Linked DNA regions of Homo sapiens: region 1 is linked to region 2. The links are contacts of gene promoters, found by promoter capture Hi-C in blood cells and fetal thymus (Javierre and others, 2016). All regions are on one chromosome and are shown on one strand. Each heading gives the region's core, a stretch centred on a gene start or on the middle of the fragment in contact. The rest is flanking DNA. Distances are from core to core; before and after follow the strand shown. Region 1 overlaps ITGAL (integrin subunit alpha L). Region 2 holds the start of FBRS (fibrosin).

Region 1 (5,733 bases), core at 3,203-5,702, 140 kb before region 2:
TGTGCCGCTCTCCATTTTACCAATGAACAAGCTGAGGCTCAGAGAAGGCCGGCACTTACCCAAGGTCCAATAGCTGGAAGTACTAAAGCCAGGGTCTGAGCTTCAGCCTGTCTGACTCCAAAGGCCCAGCCAAGCTCCTGACTGTTTCAGTCACCCTAGATTCTCTCCCCTCCTGGGGGCCGATAATGCCAGGAGAGATAGGAGAAAAGTTATCACAATACCCCTTGCCCTCAGGGAGCTTACAGTCAAGTGGGAGAGCCCAAACTCATGCACACACAGAGTCAGTGACTCTCAGAACACAGTAGCAGGAAGGAACCATGGGGATCGCTAGTTGGGTTTGTAACTGAACTCTGGTCTGGCTGCTTGTTACTTGAAAGCCAGACTTAAGAAGCAAGAGTTGGTGGGAGGAAAGGCAGGTTTATCTGGAAAGCCAGGCAATTGAGAAGACAGTGAACTAGTGTTCTAAAGGACCATCTGTAATGTTAAGGGTAGGGGGAAGAGAAAGGGGTTAAGATCAAGAGGTAACTTAGCACAGACATCTGGGCACCAGAGAGGATACAAGGAGGTTGGGAACTTCTTGGTCCTTGGTCAGGTCACAGTGCTTCTATAAATCTTTAACAAAACATAGTTAGTTGTTTACAAACGTCCCCTTTAATGCCAGACTTAGTTTTAAAAACTACATGATAGCTGTTTTTGCATGTTATCTCAGTGCTCTAAAATTATCCTAGCCTATGGGCAGGAATGGGTAAAGGCCTCTTCAACAAAAATGGAGGGAGTTATGTCCGTTTTTTGCTATTTCAAAAAAACCTGTTACAGGTCTTCTCGCTTATAGAAAAGGAAACTTGGCCAGGTGTGGTGGCTCACACCTGTAATCCTAGTAATTTGGGAGGCCAAGGTGGGTGGATCACTTGAGGTCAGTAGTTCAAGACCAGCCTGGCCAACATGGTGAAACCTTGTCTCTACTAAAAATACAAAAATTAGCTCGGCGTTGTGGCAGGCACCTATAATCCCAGCTACTCAGGAGGCTGAGGCAGGACAATTGCTTGAACCCGGGTGGAGGAGGTTGCAGTGAGCCGAGATCATGCCACTGCCCTCCAGCCTGAGTGACAGAGTGAGACCCTGTGTGAAAAAAAAAAAAAAGGAAACTCAAAATCGAGTGGCTTTTTCCAGTTGGCTCAGTTACAGAAGGACAGAGAAGGACGGGGACAGTGTCTGAGCTCAGGTCTCTAGTGCTTTTTAAATTTTTTTTATTTTTTAAGAGACAGAGTCTCGCTCTGTTGCCCAGGCTGGAGTGCAGTTGCACAATCTCGGCTCACTGCAACCTCCTCCTCCAGGGTTCAAGCAATTCTCCTGCCTCAGCCTCCCGAGTAGCTGGGACTACAGGTGCCTGCCACCATGCCCAGCTAATTTTTGTATTCTTAGTAGAGACAGGGTTTCGCCATGTTGGCCAGGCAGGTCTTAAACTCCTGAACTCAGGTGATCTACCTGCCTCAGCCTCCTGAAGTGCTGGGATTACAGGCGTAAGCCACCGCGCCTGGCCTCCAGTGCTTTTGAACATCAATGCCACACAGTATGATACTGACATGAAATTAGAGCCAGGAAAGATGAGTGTGGGTTGGGGGAGAAATGGAAGAGTTCGTGGAGAAAGTGCGGCTTGGACTGGGGTCTGGAGGATGAGGCCATTAGGGGAAGAGCTAAAAAGGAACCTAGATGTCCTCATCAGAGACCATGGCCCAGACAAAGGCAAGGAGGGAGGAAGCAGTGGGGCATACCTGGGGGACAGGGATTGGGCAGGATTAGCCAAGGGCAGGTGTGTGCAGGGGAGCAGTGAGGAGACTGCCTGGACATGGGAGGCTTTGGACCTGACCCTCCCTCGCAGTAGGGGGCCGTTGGCCAATGCTGAGCAGGTGAGTGGCAGGACTAGAGAGTGATGTTGGGAAGGTCACCCAGCAGTGTGTGTTGGAAGGATGGGTGCGAGGGGCATCAGCAGTGGATACGATTATCTAGGAGATGAGCAGGGCCCAGAGGACAGTGGAGACACTGGTGAGGTGGCGCGCAGTGGGGAGGACATAGCCTCCACTGGACACACTTCCCTGGGCTCCAGTCCTGTCTCTCCACTGTGGAGAAGCTTTGGACAAGAGGCTGGCCCTGTCCAGGAGCCTTAGTTTCTGGGAAAGAGCAGGTTGTGGTAGGGATTGAATGAGATGGTATCTGTGCCGTTCCTAGCACAGTGGCTGGGCGCTCAGAAGCTTCCTGGAGCCCGGGTTGCTGTCACTTCGTTCTTCCATCGCTGCCCTTCTCTCTCCGCAGCCAAGAAGACTCCACACTCTATGTCAGTTTCACCCCCAAAGGCCCCAAGATCCACCAAGTCAAGCACATGTACCAGGTATGAATCCCAATGTGGAAGGTCCTTATAGGTCACACATTCATTCTTTATCCCGGGGACTGAGGATGCAGGCACCAAGTAGACACAGTACTCATCCTAGCCATCCAACTGTTCAATAATCCTTTCTCTAGAGTGTCACAGCCTCCACTTACAGGCTTCCAGCAGCAGCATATGCTAACTCCTTTCTGCCACTGGATGCATTATTTCAAGAATCACAGGACTTGAGAGCAAGGAGGATGCTGAGAGAGAACCTGCTTTTTCATAACAACACTGAATGAGCTACTATTCTTTGCTCTGTTTGTTACCCAGGCTTGAGTGCAGTGGTGCAATCTCGGCTCACTGCAAACTCTGCCTCCCAAGTTCAAGCAATTCTCCTGTCTCAGCCTCCCAAGTAGCTGAGATTACAGGCATCCACCACCATGCCCAGCTAATTTTTTTTTTTTTTTTTGAGACGGAGTCTCACTCTGTCACCCAGGCTGGAGTGCAGTGGCACGGTCTCAGCTCACTGCAACCTCCGCCTCCTGAGTTCAAGCCATTCTCCTACCTCAGCCTCCCAAGTAGCTGGGATTACAGGCATGTGCCACCATGCCCGGCTAATTTTTGTATTTTTAGTAGAGATGGGGTTTTACCATGTTGGCCAGGCTGGTCTTGAACTCCTGACCTCGTGATCTTCCCCCCTCGTGGCCTCTCAAAGTGCTGGGATTACAGGCATGAGCCACCGCACCCGGCCCTATGCCCAGCTAACTTTTGTATTTTTTGTAGAGGCGGAGTTTTGCCCTGTAGGCCAGGCTGGTCTGGAACTCCTGACTTCAAGTGATCTACCCACCTCAGCCTCCCAAAGTACTAGGACTACAGGCATGAGCCACCACACCTGGCCTATTCTAAGTTAGGTATTTAGCTAGGTGCTGGCATCCTGCCCAGTCTCCAAACCCAGGTTCTGTGCCTGGTGCTTTATTTTTACCTTTTCTTTTTTCTTTTCTTTTTTTTTTTTTTTTTGAGGTAGAGTCTTGCTCTGTCACCCAGGTTGGAGTGCAGTGGCGTAATCTCAGCTCACTGCAACCTCCGCCTCCTGGATTCAAGCAATTCTCCTGCTTCAGCCTTCTGAGTAGCTGAGATTACAGGCGCCCACCACCACGCCAGGCTAATGTTTGTATTTTTAGTAGAGAGAGGGTTTCATCATGTTGGCCAGGCTGGTCTCAAACTCCTGACCTCAGGTGATCCGCCCACCTCGGCCTCCCAAAGTGCTGAGATTACAGGCGTGAGCCACTGTGCCTGGCCTGGTCTCAACATATTCTAAACCAAATTTGCTGTCTTCCCCTAAGCCAGCATCTCCTCTGGCTTGCGTGGAATCTTTTGAAAGCACCATCTCTTTCTCAAGGAAAACTTAACGTGTCTGGGTGAATTTCTCCTTCCTCCTGCTTTGTCCCACTGCCTGCTGGAGTCTGGTTGTCTGTGTCCTTTTTCTGCTACCGCCCAGACCCAATTCCTCACCTTCTTGCAACTGGACTATTGAGAGAGGCTCCCAACATGGGCCATGACCCGCCTCTCCCAGCCTCTTTCCAGCTCATGCCTGCAGGGGATGGACCTCCCTGGAGCCACTCTCTTCCTCTGCCACCTTCTGTGACTTCCCACTGCCTCCTTGATGCTGCTCCAACTCCTCACTCTCAAGCCTTCCAGGCCCCATAGTGTGATCTTGGGCTTCCTTTCCAGCCTCAGCTCCTGTTCTCCTTCCCAGGCACCCTCCTTCCAGCCACATCCCTCTCACCTGGTGCCATCCTGGCTCCCCACATGTCTCTTCTTGGATGCCCTCTCCCACCTTCATCTGTTAAAATCCTGTCCATCTGGTCAGGCGCGGTGGCTCACACCTGTAACCCCAGCACTTTGGGAGGCCCAGGTGGGCAGATCACCTGAGGTCAGGAGTTCAAGACCAGCCTGGCCAACATGATGAAACCCCATCTCTACTAAAAATACAAAAATTAGCTAGGTGTGGTGGTGTGTGCCTGTAGTCCCAGCTACTGGGGAGGCTGAGGCAGGAGAATCGCTTGAACCTGGAAGGTGAAGGTTGCAGCGAGCTGTGATCGTGCCATCGCACTCCAGCCTGGGTGACAGAGTGATATTCTGTCTAAAAAAAAAAAAAAAATCCTGTCCATCTTTCACAGTCAAATTCAAATACTGCCCCTGACATTTGGCCTTTTTAATTTAACTGGTATTTCAAGTGTCCACAAATGTTCGTTGAATGAATAAATGATAGAATCCTTCTAATTTGATACATTTCCCTGCTTCCTGAGACATTGTTAGTGCCACTTCTGTGTCACTTTCTTACACATATCTGAGTCTCCCAGCCTTAACACAGGTAGTTCTTTTTTTAATAAAAGGTGCTCAGAAATTTTTTTTTTTTTTTGAGACGGAGTCTCACTCTGTCGCCCAGGTTGGAGTGCAGTGGCATGATCTCGGCTCACTGCAACCTTCACCTCCTGGGTTTAAGTAATTCTCCTGCCTCAGCCTCCAGAGTACCCAGCACTGTAGGATTGTGCCACCACACCTGGCTAATTTTTGTATTTTTAGTAGAGACGGGGTTTCACCATCTTGGTCAGGCTGGTCTCAAACTCCTGACCTCAAGTGATCTGCCCACCTCAGCCTCCCAAAGTGCTGGGATTACAGGTGTGAGCCACCACACTAGGCACTGTGTCAAGCAGTAGGGGATTGGAGGTGGAGTAAGAATGGCTCCTGTCCTCAGGGAGTTCATGGTCTAGTGGAGATGCAGACATCCAAGCAGATCCTTTGCCGTCCTGCTGGGGACGCAGAGCACACTGTGGGAGCCCAGGAGGGGGAGCTGCCCTGTCCTTGGGGAGTCAGCGAAGCCTTCAGAGATAATATTAGAGCAGGCCCTTGCAGGGTGTGTGAGAGTGTGCTGGGCGGAGAAAGCTGGAAGAGCATGGAAGCCACACTGCAAGGCCCTGAGGACGGAAGCTGGCCATGCCCAGTCACTGGACACTGCCTAACCGACAAGGGCCCTGGGGACTCAGCCAATGAGGACTGGAAGAGGCGTGCAAGGGCACACAGGGTCTGGGGGGCAGCTGGGGTGGCTGGCATTCAGGGCTCTGCATCCCTTGTCCTCTGTGCCAGGTGAGGATCCAGCCTTCCATCCACGACCACAACATACCCACCCTGGAGGCTGTGGTTGGGGTGCCACAGCCTCCCAGCGAGGGGCCCATCACACACCAGTGGAGCGTGCAGATGGTGAGTGCTGCCTGTAGAGGGAGGGTCTACCCTCCTCAGGTCTTGGGGGTGAGTGCATTTGAGGGTACAGAGGGCAGGGCTTGGCCAGGTGCGGTGGCTCTGCCTCC
Region 2 (6,231 bases), core at 1,903-4,402:
TATCCAGTGGGCAGGAGACGGGGGATAATGCAGTGAATCCTGTTTGTCCCTGAGCCTTGACCTTCTTGGCAGGTTGGGTTCAACCAAAGGGAAGGAGCCAAGAGCCTCAAAGGACCAGGTGCTTTCAGAACCTGAGACCAAGGTAGGCATTCAGATCGGGTAGAAGAGACTAGTGGGGGCCTGAGCCCATGTCACTCTTTCACCCTCTGCCCCATTTTTGCAGACCATGGGAAAGGTTTCTCGATTCAGAATACGCAGAACACCAGCCCGTCCTCAGCTAAACCTTACACCAATGGGACTGCCTCGACCAATCAGGTGAGGGGCTCACTGGGCATTGAGCCATCTTGGCCAAACAGATGCAGGCTTATGTCCCCTGAAGTATAGCTTTGTCTCCCCTCAGGGAGCACAGTCCAGCCTGAAAGATTCAATTCGGTGTGGGGATGGTTTGTGCTCAAAATTGCCTGTCTGCCTTATGTAGCACTCCTGGCCCTGACATGTCCCAGAAACTGAAATACAGACCAGGCCTTACCTGTCCCTTCAGGCCCCACTGGCCCAAGGTTTCTCAGTGGCCTCTGCTCTTTGCTCACAGGTTGAACAAGAAGGAGTTCAGCTTGGAAGAAATTTACACCAACAAGAATTACCAATCACCCACAACCAGGAGGTGAGACACTTGGAAGGCTAGAGGGTGGCAGAGGGAAATCTGGAGCTGTGGAGCACCCTGATAAAACCAGCTCCTCTCCCTGCCTTGTTCAGGACCTTTGAGACCATCTTTGAGGAACCCCGGGAGCGCAATGGGACTCTGATTTTCACCAGCTCAAGGAAGCTCCGGCGGGCTGTGGAATTTCGGGACAGCAGCCTTCCTCGATCACGAAGACCGTCCCGTGGGGTCCGGGCTGCAGGGGGCAGGACTGTTCCTCCCAATGTGGCCCCCAGCCCTGATGTGGGCCCCCTGCTCCAGCAGCGGCTGGAGGAGCTAGATGCCTTGCTCCTGGAGGAAGAAACAGTAGATCGGGAGCAGCCCCACTGGACCTAGGTGCCCCATCTGTTGGTCATCCATCCTGAAGGGACAGGAAACCTCCCAGGCAGTTATTTTTTTTTCTCTATATTTCTAGTAAAGTTTTCGATATGTTTCTGATTCTTTTGTATCTCTAGCTGAGTTTAAGATTGATTTGGCTGATGTTTCTACGTTGACCCCCAAAGGTCTGGGAACTGGGGCTGGTGCTAGAGATGGTGACAGGGGTTGGGTACAGAGTACAGGGAGGGGGTGAAGTGGTCACTTGAGATAGATAGATAGATAGATAGATAGATAGATAGATAGATAGATGATAGATATAGATGGAGTTCCGCTCATGTCACTCAGGCTGGAGTACAATGGCACGATCTTGGCTCACTGCAACCTCTGTCTCCCTCATTCAAGCGATTCTCCTGCCTCAGCCTCCCAAGTATCTGGGATTACAGGCGTGCGCTACCACACCCGCTAATTTTTGTATTTTTAGTAGAAACTGGGCTTCACCATGTTGGCCAGGATGGTCTTGAACATCTGACCTCAGGAAATCCGCCTGCTTTGGCCTCCCTAAGTGCTGGGATTACAGGCATGAGCCACCATGCCCGGCCTAGAGATACTCTCTTGCTTAGAGGATTCTCCTGTGTGGAGGGACACTTCTGAATCAGTGCCAGATGATACTGTGACCCTAGACCGTGGTCTGGGTTCTCCCAATTCATTTATATCAAGGAGACTGAAAGGCCTATAGTGGGTCAAGGCCTTGAAGATCAAGATGGCCCTGAATTCCTGCTAACATGCAGGCCAGGACCTGCTGCTGGATTCAAGAGCTACGGCTAGGCCAGGTGCGGTGGCTTACGCCTGTAATCCCAGCGCTTTGGGAGGCCGAGGCAGGTGGATCACAGGAGCCTAGGAGTTCGAGACCAGCTTGGCCAACATGGTGAAACCCCGTCTCCACTAAAAATACAAATATTAGCTGGGTGTCTTGGTGTGTACCTGTAATCCCAGCTACTCAGGAGGCTGAGCCAGGAGAATTCACTTGAACCCGAGAGGCAGAGGTTGTAATGAGCTGAGATCGCACCACTGCACTCCAGCTTAGGGAACACAGCCAGACTCTGTCCCCCCCAAAAAAACAAAACAAAACAAAGAGCTAAGAGTAATGGGCCATAATGAAGCACTCACGACGACTGTCATAGGTGCTTGACCTGCACATGTCCCTGCGACAGGGAATTAGTCATTTTATGGACGAGAAAGCAAGGCAGGCATGTCAGCGCGCTGTCCACTTTTAAAACGGTAACCCGGGCAACCGAAGGCCAGAAATGGCTGTCTCTTTTTTTTTAAGCCAGTCACATTGAGCAGTGGGGTGCATCTTTCATAACTGAGAGGCATCACAGGGCAGTGGCTGACATAGACGTGGCTAGGAGACTACCAGCCCGTCTGTGCGCGCATTCCTTTCCGTCCCAGTAAAATGGGGCTGACAGCATCTCCTTCATGGAATTATTACCAAACGCAGTCACAAACGCGGAGAAGCGCTCATGCAGGTGCAAGGCGTTTTCGAATTGCTAGCACTCGGGACCGCTGCCAGCAGCCGCGCCTGGAAGGGACGCGGCTGCCTGTTAGTGCGGCCGGCGCAGGCGCAGGCACAGCACGCGGCCGCTCGGGCCACCCCGGGCCGCGGAACGACTCGCAAGCAGCCAGCCTGACGGCGGCGCCGCCACGCGCGTGCGCGAGACGCCAGGCTGTCTGTGGGCCGCGCCGAGCGGCGGAAAGGCGGCGATGACTTAACTGGCTGTGGAACGGAACCTCTTGCAGCCGCGCGCCCCCCGGCGGCCAACCGCCCCCAACGCCTCAGGCCCCGCGTCTCCGCCCCTCGCCTCGACGCCATCAGGAGACCGGCCAATAAACAAACAGCAGGAAGAGGCGGGGCCCTGTAGTAACCGCCCCAAACACCTACTTCTAACCAGTCGAGTCACAAGACTGGGGGGAAGGGCGGAGCCAATCCGACGTAACCCAATCCAAGATTTGAGGGCGGTTACATGCACCCACTCCCTCGGGTTTGGCTCCGCCCCTCACCTTGACGTAGCCCTCCCAGCCTATCAACGACTGCGCCCGTTGGGGGTGAGGGGAAGGGGGCGGAGCGTGGGAGGAGGCCGAGAGAGGAAGGAGGCGTAGGCTGAGGAGGAAGAGGGAGGAGGGGTAGGGAAGTCCTGGCGGAGAAGCGCCCTAAGACTCCAAAGGAGACAACAGGAGTTTGTGCTGGAGCTCCCCCGCTGCCCATCGGCCGTTCCGGATCCCCTAAGGCCCAAGTCGGACAGAGACGGAGGAAAGGAGGAAGAGACTTTTATGTCGGCGGACAGGGGAGCTGTACCCGTCACCGTTGCCTCACATCCGGGGCTTTGGAGGGCTGGCCTCGCTGCCCCGCCCCGCCTCGCGCCTTTCATGGCGACCGGAGGCGGAGGCTGGAGGAGCTGGGCCCGGAGGAGGCCCCTTTAAATCTCCTTAAAGGGGTGGCCACTGAACTCGGCGGACTGCAACGCCAGCCTTAAAGGGGAAGCCGCCGAGCAGACGCTGACAAATTGAGAACTGTGCCGTTGGGAGAACTGGGGCGAGTGGGGTTTTTCTTTACGTCCTCCTCCCCCACACACAAGAAGTCTTTTAAATTCAACTTAAAGGGGAAGTGGCCGCTTGTGGAGGACTAGAAACTAACTCCGAGCCCTTAAAGGGACGGCCTGCTGTTAGAAGGACCCTGGACTCCTTAAAGGGGTGGCCTCTTTGAGCCGGAGGACTTGAGACACTTTTAAAGGGGAGGTCTGCGTTTCGGGGCGAGCTTTCGGCCCCTTTTAAAGGGGTGGCCCTTCCTCTTCCTCGGGGAGACTTGCATCGACCCCTGGCAGGGGGTGGCCACCGCACTAGGCCGCCGGACACTGTCGGGTCGTCTTAAAGGGGCCGGGAGCTGGACAACTTGGGGCCTCGCCTTAAAGGGACGGCCGCCCCGTTTTCGCCGTCGCGGCCCCGCCGAGCCCGCAGGGGGGGCCCTCGGGCTTGTCGCCCCGGGGGCGGCGCCGGCTCCCCGGGCCGTGGCCTTGGGGCAAGCTCGGGGCCAGCAGATCCGGCTTTAAAGGAGAAGCCGTGGCCCTCTCGTCACTGTGCAGCCGCCAGCGCCGCGCCTGCGACCCCGGGCCTGCGGACAGGCCGCTTCGGGCCCCGCCGCCTCCGGATGCGGCGCTGAGGGCGGTCGCCATGGAGACGGCAGCGGCCGCGGCCCCGGGTCCGGGCTGGGCAGCAGAGGGGGAGCGCCGACGGCGGCGCTGCTCGCGCCGAGACCGAGACCGGGAGCAGCGGCGCCGCCGAGGTCCAGGCGGCGACGCGCCCCGGGCCCTGTTGGCCGCCCCGCGCGGCTCCTCGTCCTCGTCGTCGCCGCCGCCGCCCGCCAGGCCTTGGTCGTCAGCTTCGTCTGGAGAGCGGCCTGGGGGCCCGAGACGCCGGCGGCCCCGTCCGAGACCTCGACCCCCGCGACCCCGAGCTCGGAAGCGGCCTGCCGGCTCGGGCAGCCGCGGGGAGGAAGAGGAGGAGGAGGAGGAGGAGGGGGGCGCAGACGACGGCGAAGCCGAGGAGGAGCCTGAGGAGGAGGAAGAGGAGGAGGAGGACTTGATCGATGGCTTCGCCATCGCCAGCTTCGCCACCCTCGAGGCCTTGCAGGTGGGGCCTAATGGGGCTAGGAGACTTTGGGGGTTTCCGAGGGGCAGCAAGGAGGGGGCAGTGCCCCTAGTGGGTGGAGTTGAGGGGGGAATGCTGGCACCCCAAACCAGAGCAACCGGCTCCTCTGGCCAGGCCTCTGCCCCGCCCTGGGGTGGGAGGAGGTAGAGCTCGTCTCTGGGGACCCGGTTTCCCGGCCCGAGGGGTACTTCGGCAACCTGGTCACCCCTAGAGGGGTTGGGAGCTTGCCCTTTTCCATCTATCTCAGCCCCACCTCCTCCTCCACAGAAGGATGCATCTCTTCAGCCCCCAGAGCGACTGGAACATCGGCTGAAGCATTCTGGGAAGCGGAAAAGGGGGGGCTCCAGTGGGGCCACCGGGGAGCCAGGGGACAGCTCTGATCGAGAGCCTGGCCGGCCCCCTGGGGATCGGGCCCGAAAATGGCCCAATAAGCGGAGAAGAAAAGAGGTGAGGTTGTCCCTTAAAACTCTTTAGGCAGAATGTATTTCCCACAGCCCCGTTTTTCATCAGCAACGCCACTGCCCCTTGTAAACAGAGACCCCAGTTTCTAAGGGCAAAGAGGCAAGCAGGGCAAATTTGAGCCCTTACTCATCCGGGTCTGACGAAGGCCTGTCTACAGTCAGGTGCACCTCCTTTTGCCTGGTTCTGTGTCTACTTCAAACGTTTTGATAATTCAGAGAGGCGTCAAAGGAATATAGTTGGGTCGTAAATTAATTGTGGTTCCTGCCCTTCCTCGAGGTGGTGGCAGTCCAGCAGAAAAGAAATAGCCAGCAAGCAAACACCTAGACCTTAATTTGAGAAGCTACAGAAGACAAAGATGGGGAGAGATGCTACAGAAACCCACATGAGGAAGCCGCTTGTGCTGCCTGGGGGATGGGAGGAGAGTTGTGGTTGGGGAAAGCCCCCTAGGATGTCTTAGTCAGGTCCTGAAGTATAGTCAGAAGTTTGCTAAGAAAAGACACGGGGAAAAGTTGTTTTGGGCAAGAGCATGAAGACGTGAGGACCCGGCGTATTTAGAGAATGGTGAGAGCACTGGGACCCGGGTGGGCAGTGGCGGGAGAAGCAGCTGGAAGGAGAGGCTGAGAGTAGATCCTGGAGGCCCATGAGCGCCCTGCTGGGAGCTGCGACTTTCCCAGCTGCCTCAGCAGCCGCCTCCCTCACCTCTGGACTCTGGTCTTCCTCAGGCGTCCTCCCGTCACTCTCTGGAAGCTGGATACATAGTAAGTGCTATCCACCTGTCCTGGCCCCTCCCTGCTCCACCCTGGGCCTCTTCCCTCTCGTGACACCTCTGTCTTTCCTTCTCCCCAGTGTGACGCGGAAAGTGATCTGGACGAGAGGGTGAGTGGGGCTAGAGCTTGGGTGGGCAGTGTCACTGCTTGTAAAAGGGACTGCAGCATAAAGGTCTTCTGCGTGCAGCAGACAGCCTTCCCTTGAGTGAGAAACATGGCTTAGGTTGAGTCAGGATTAGGTTTTTGGGAGGAACGGGGGTGGATTGGGAGGGTAAATGGCGTCAT

The links. Contacts are between HindIII fragments. The CHiCAGO score rates a contact against its expected background, and 5 or more counts as called.
Region 1: a contact is called between a fragment that was not itself captured here and the fragment with the promoter of FBRS in region 2, in 1 of 17 cell types (monocytes). The highest score is 5.2, in monocytes.

Annotation. Positions count from the first base shown.
Region 1 is chr16:30,511,461-30,517,193 of GRCh38, forward strand. It overlaps ITGAL (integrin subunit alpha L), which reads left to right. Exons shown (of 31, transcript NM_002209.3): 25 at 2,311-2,386; 26 at 5,513-5,626. Among named protein-coding and RNA genes, the nearest start is that of MIR4518, 10 kb to the left of the region's middle. The HindIII fragment of the contact is 4,411 bases long and covers 2,248-5,733 here.
Region 2 is chr16:30,655,279-30,661,509 of GRCh38, forward strand. FBRS (fibrosin) reads left to right here and starts at 3,153. Exons shown (of 18, transcript NM_001105079.3): 1 at 3,153-4,699; 2 at 4,985-5,164; 3 at 5,902-5,937; 4 at 6,026-6,055. The coding sequence starts at 4,241. It overlaps PRR14 (proline rich 14), which reads left to right. Exons shown (of 12, transcript NM_024031.5): 9 at 73-142; 10 at 224-315; 11 at 590-661; 12 at 754-1,135. The coding sequence ends at 1,033. RefSeq lists silencers at 2,569-2,828, 2,859-2,938, 2,989-3,168, 3,989-4,218, 4,289-4,338 and enhancers at 3,419-3,868, 5,549-5,708. The HindIII fragment of the contact is 16,259 bases long and covers 1-6,231 here.